2 separate regions of the Homo sapiens genome follow, and region 1 is linked to region 2. Evidence: promoter capture Hi-C in 16 types of primary human blood cells and fetal thymus (Javierre and others, 2016). All regions are on one chromosome and are shown on one strand. Each heading gives the region's core, a stretch centred on a gene start or on the middle of the fragment in contact. The rest is flanking DNA. Distances are from core to core; before and after follow the strand shown.

Region 1 (2,700 bases), core at 76-2,575, 120 kb before region 2:
AAGATAACCAAAGCCCTATTCTGGGCACCAAGGAAATAAGGAGAGAGAGGGTCAGTATCTGAAGAGGAGAGAGACTTCCTCATCCTCAAAACTTTCATATGAAGTCAGCCTATCTCATGAGCCCTGGAGGCAGGAAGAGGCCACCAAGGTGGATTCAAAAGCCCTTTCCGACAGTTATGTTTTGAGAATCTTAATTTTCTGGGATCTGAAGTTCTTTGATGAAAGACAGAAGCCCACAGGCCTGGGCACCCACCCACCCCAGGCACCATGATAGTGTCCCAAATGTCACCACAGCATCCAGTTCTATCAACAATGTGGAACAGCAGACATAGCTGCAGTGTCCATTTTACAGGTGAGGAAACGTGGCCCAAACAGAAAAAGGAACTTGTCTGAAGTTAGCCAGGTATCAAGGCTGCCTGGATCTAAAATCCCAGCCCAGCTCTCCACAGTGTAAGTTTTAGGAGATGGGAGATAATGATCTGACCTGGCTGCCTGAATGCAGTAGCAGAAAGGAGCCCTGGGGCTGAGCTGGTGGGACCAGCTTCCATCAGATGGACATGGCATGGTGAGGCCTGTCTTTCCAAGGGCTGGTGCTGCTGCTTGCTCCACGCGGACCACGAAGACCACGAGGGCAGCAAAGAGGGCAATTTTAATGGCATCTGGTACCGGGGCTTTGGGGGAGGAAGTCTGTGGTTCCGGTGTTAACAGTGGTGCCAGAGACCTCTGTAATCTGCCGCCTCCGCCAGGTGGAGTCTGGGCTCTGCCCCTGCTGAGCCTCTCCCCACCGGACACTCAACCTCAGCCTTGGCTGCCACAGCTAGTCTGGTCTGAGGGGGAGGGCCCCGCCCGACTCAACTGAGGGGAGGCCATTCCAAGTAGAATCGTTAGTTGGACACAGTTCCCGGGGGGATGGAAATGTCAAAGGCAACTCGATCCGGCCCATCTCCCTCTCCTGCCAGGCGACGGTATCCGCGGGGATCGAGTGACTGCCTACATAGCCTGGAATACTCCACAGCCGCCCTCCCTACCCCGCCCTGAAGGCTATACTGTCCGAAGGGGCCGACCGAGGTCAAGGGACCTGTCGCCCCGCGGGAATCGCGGCCGTGGGATGGGCCCAGGTGTTCAGGCTCGCTCCACCCATTCATCGGTGGGAGCGAAAGTTCAGGAATCGTGCTCCTTCAGCAGCCCCCCGCCCCCCACAGCCCTCCCGCTGGGCTCACCCATTGCAGTTACAGCCCGGCAGAAGCGGGGGTGAAAGAGCTTCCCGCCGATCCCCTGCGCTTGAACCAGAGTGAAGCTGCCGCCGCGCCGCGCGGGGCTCTGTCTGGCAGGGCACAGCCCCTCCTCGGGTCCCGCCCTGGGGTTCCTCGGCCACGCCCCAGTCATCCAGTCTCGTCTCGGGCCTCAGAGTCCAGCCCTGCCCTTGACGTTCGACCCCTCCTCCCAGGTTATCAGGCGGATCTGTGGCCCCGCCCCTCAGCCCCACCTTCCTCCCACCGCTCTGTGCTCTGCCCCTGGCATTTCAGGCTTGCTCAGTCCTGCGCCCCGCGGCTCCGACTCCCGCCGGCGGGCCCGCCCCTCCTGGGCCACTGCTAACCCGCAAGCGGGCGGGGCTCGGCCCCAGGCCTGCTGGGACATGTAGTTCTGCAGAAAGGAGCAGCTGCGGAAGGTTGGGGTTCTTGCACCTCTAGGCTAGGTTTGGAATGAGGATGAGAGGGAGAGAGCTGCAGGGTAAAGGAGCAGAGCTGGCCATTGGAATTCCTTCCTTCCCGGTTTGGACAGGTGGAGGCCATATCGGTATAACGCTCTCACAAGCCCTCAGCTTTCCATACGGAAAAGTGGTGGCGGAATTCCGCGAGTATCTCAGCTCCCAATGCAGGTGCTTCCAATCGAGGGCCCCACGGAGGGAGCTGTAGTTCCAACCCGCCGCGAGTCCAAGCTGTCGGTTCCCACCGGACCAAACCAGCGGTGTCCGAGGTCAGGGACTGAGAAGACCGGTTTCTGCTCGGTGTTTTGCAACGTCACCCGCCTCCCAGACCGCTACCCCCAGACTAGTTATTTATAGGGTCCAGCCCCTCCTCCTAAGTTACAGCCTTTAGTTAGAAATGCCCAAGCTGCGGGAAAGTGGGTGTGCCCCGCCATGCCCCTCTCCCCGGGGGCTGGGCAAGACTCTGAGGTTTCATTTCTTTTTTATTTTATTTTATTTTTATATTTATTTATTTTTGAGTTTCGTTCTTGTTGCCCAGGCTGGAGTACAATGGCACGATCTCAGCTCACTGCAAACTCCGCCTCCCGGGTTCAAGCAATTCTCCTGCCTCAGCCTCCCAAGTAGCTGGGATTACAGGCACGCACCACCGCGCCTGGCTAATTTTGTATTTTTAGTAGAGACAGAGTTTCACCATGTTGGTCAGGCTGGTCTCAAACTCCTGACCTCAGGTGATCTACCTGCCTCGGCCTCCCAAAGTGCTGGGATTACAAGTGTGGGCCACCGCGTCCGGTCTTTATTTTTTTGAGAGAGGGTCTCGCTCTGTCGCCCAGGCTGGAGTGCAGTGGCGTTAACATAGCTCACTGCAGCCTCAATGTCCTTGGTTCAAGCTATCCCCTCCCGCCTCAGGCTCCTGAGTAACTTGGACCACATGTGTGTGCCACCATACCCTGCTAATTTTTAAATTTTTTTGTAGAGAAGGGGTCTCTTTATGT
Region 2 (2,700 bases), core at 112-2,611:
TAACACTTTTGTGCTACTGATCAATAAATGGTAGCTATTGTTATTGATATGCCATTTCATGACTGATGGAGCTGGGAGGAGTCACCCGAGGAAGTGCTGACTTGAGGGCATGTGGCTGTGTCCTCCTACCTCAAAGGAGCTCTCACCAAGCATCCAATTCCTTGTGGCCAGAGGACAGAGTTGGGCCCATAGGTAGAAGATGCAGGGAGGGAGTTTCAGTTAACTGGCTATCTGGCCACAGAAAACACTGCCTGACCTGGGGAGAGTCACACTTACCAGGAAGCTGCTAAGGGGAGAGGATTCCTGCTCTGGGTCAGAGAATAGAGAGCGTAGCTGGAACCAGGTGAACTCTGAGGTCCGTGACTGCAAGACTCCAGTGAATGCCCTTCTTGGTCAGTTTTCAAAGATAAACTTGGAGTCTCTTTCAGGCGTGGCAAAAGGTCCTCAAAGGTCAGTTCCCCAGAAGTGACTTCATAACCCTTCGCTGCACTACTCTGCATGTTTCCTCTGACACCATCACCACCGGGAACTGGGTTAGACACTAACATGTATTATCACATTTCACCATCACAATGACCTGATGAGGCAGATGCCACCATCCGCCCCCACTTACCAGGAGGAGTCTAAGACTCAGAGAAGCTAAATAACTTGCCAGAGGTTGCCACCGGGTTCTAATTTTGGTGGGATGGGATAGGAGTGCAGGTCTGTGCGGCTCTAGAACCCATCCTTTTAACCGCTACCTGACGCTGCTGTTTCTGAGACATCGAATCCTTGGGAGCCATGGGCCTGGCCCCCTGACCCTACCCTGGAGGGCTGCCCATTCAGCTGGCTCACTCCTGCCACCTGCCCTAAGCCCTCTGGGCCTTTCCTGTTAGTCCCAAACTCTTTGCTCTTCTGTCAACCTGCCAAGCACCTCATCTTGGGGATTTATGGAATTTCACACAATGGCAAGCTTCCTTTTGGTTCAAGATGAGTCACGTTTTCCTGAAGTTAAGCTTCCTGCTTTCTCATTGGTCTGGGCTGTGGGGAGGGCCTGGAATTAGGAGTCTCAGTTCTGCCTTGTACTCCATGTATGTAAGCATGTCTCTCCCCTCTTTGGGCCTTGGTGCCTTCCTCAGCCTGTAACTGAGTAAGGGATAAAACCACATGATCTTTGAGGCCTTTAATGGGAGTCTTTCACTCTCTGAGCTGGTAAAACTTTTCTGTCTCCACCAAAGAAGGCTCCAACCTGCCCTTGTCTGCTCTCCCCTGCAGACCCTTCCTGGGCTCTCTTCAATGCCCTGTCTTGTGCTCAGAGATAGGCCTTCTCCAAAACAAGTCCAGAATGAAAGCATGAAGCAGGTTCTACCCAGGGGCCAAGTATATCAGCTCAGACCCTTTGTGCCACTTGTGAGGTAGGAGTTCCTAGAAGAGGGTAGTGGCATGAGCTGGGCCTTGAGACATGCAGAGAAACCTTTACAGAGCTATCTGGGGTGAGTAGTGCCAGAGAGCTACTGCTGAATCAATTGCAAGGGTGACATGGCTCAGGACATATGACCTTGCTAAGTGCTGGTTTATGAGGACCTGAAGTTTCTGTATCCCCACAGACTGATGATCTCATCAAATTGTCCCAAGCTGCTAAGATCATGGAGCGGATGGTCAACCAGAATACATATGATGACATTGCTCAAGGTAAGAGTTGAAGTTCTGGCAACCACTATTATTGCCTGTATTAAAAATTTCTCATAAAAGCTTGGGTTATTTGGGTGTCTCTTGCTAGCTCCTATAGGTGCAAGCGGAGAAAAAATAATCCCTCTGTCCTCTGGATGTCACTGGGGAGACAAGACTTATGTGGATTAACCATGACTGATGGCATAAGAAACAATGTGTATACTGATGAGATCTGGAAGTGGTGCAGCAAAGAATACCTGCACATGGGTGATCCAATCTCATCTTCCTGATAACCCTGGGAGGCAGGCAGAGCAGAGACTTGCCCATACTGTACACATGAGGAAGCTAAGGCTAAGGCCACCTGACTAGTGAGTGGCAGAGAGGACCCAAATAGAGGTCTCGATCTTCCTCATTCTATGCTCTGTCCTCTACTCAGAGCACCTTGGGAATGCTATAAATGCCAGAATGTATGGGGTAGACAGAAACCACTCTGGGGATCCTCACATAGGAGAGAAGGAAAGTGAGGGATGAGTGGGAGTAGTTATGGAAGGCTTTGGAGAGGGCTTAGCTAGATGCCAAGGGAGAAGCAGAGTGTGTGAGAGAAGATAGCTACAGGGAGGATGTTCTGGACAGGGATGGCATGAGCAGTGTCTTGGCAGTGAAACCGAATAGGAATGGACTCTGGGGACAAGGGACAGCAGGCTCCCTGACCCAAACAGGATCTTCATTGAAAAGAGGTGAGAGTTCAGGCGGAAGAGGTTGTTGGAGCCCATTAATGAAGGGCCTTGAATATCATGCAAGGAATGTGACCTATCTCTGCAGACAGTTCAGAGAACTGAAACTTTCTAGGCAGGGACACAGCCCGATGAGAGCAAGGCTGGAGGAGGATGTGATTGTGTAGAATATAGGGCAGAGGTGGAGGTGAGGCTCAAATGTGGGGTGGAATGGGCCTTACCACACCTGACCTAGCCTGTGTCTTAAGGAATGGAGAAAAGGGAACAGTTATAATAGTGAGAAACAAGCTCCAGCATTCACTGGGAGTAGCCTGTG

The links. The method cuts DNA at HindIII sites, captures the fragments that hold promoters and counts their contacts. A CHiCAGO score of 5 or more calls a contact.
Region 1: a contact is called between the fragment with the promoter of MYORG here and a fragment that was not itself captured in region 2, in 1 of 17 cell types (endothelial precursors). The highest score is 6.3, in endothelial precursors.

What each region holds. Positions count from the first base shown.
Region 1 is chr9:34,375,573-34,378,272 of GRCh38, forward strand. MYORG (myogenesis regulating glycosidase) reads right to left here and starts at 1,326. Exons shown (of 2, transcript NM_020702.5): 1 at 1,221-1,326. RefSeq lists enhancers at 93-674, 675-1,255 and a silencer at 1,301-1,690. The HindIII fragment of the contact is 6,785 bases long and covers 1-2,700 here.
Region 2 is chr9:34,495,529-34,498,228 of GRCh38, forward strand. DNAI1 (dynein axonemal intermediate chain 1) reads left to right here. Exons shown (of 20, transcript NM_012144.4): 10 at 1,587-1,671. Among named protein-coding and RNA genes, the nearest start is that of ENHO, 26 kb to the right of the region's middle. The HindIII fragment of the contact is 736 bases long and covers 994-1,729 here.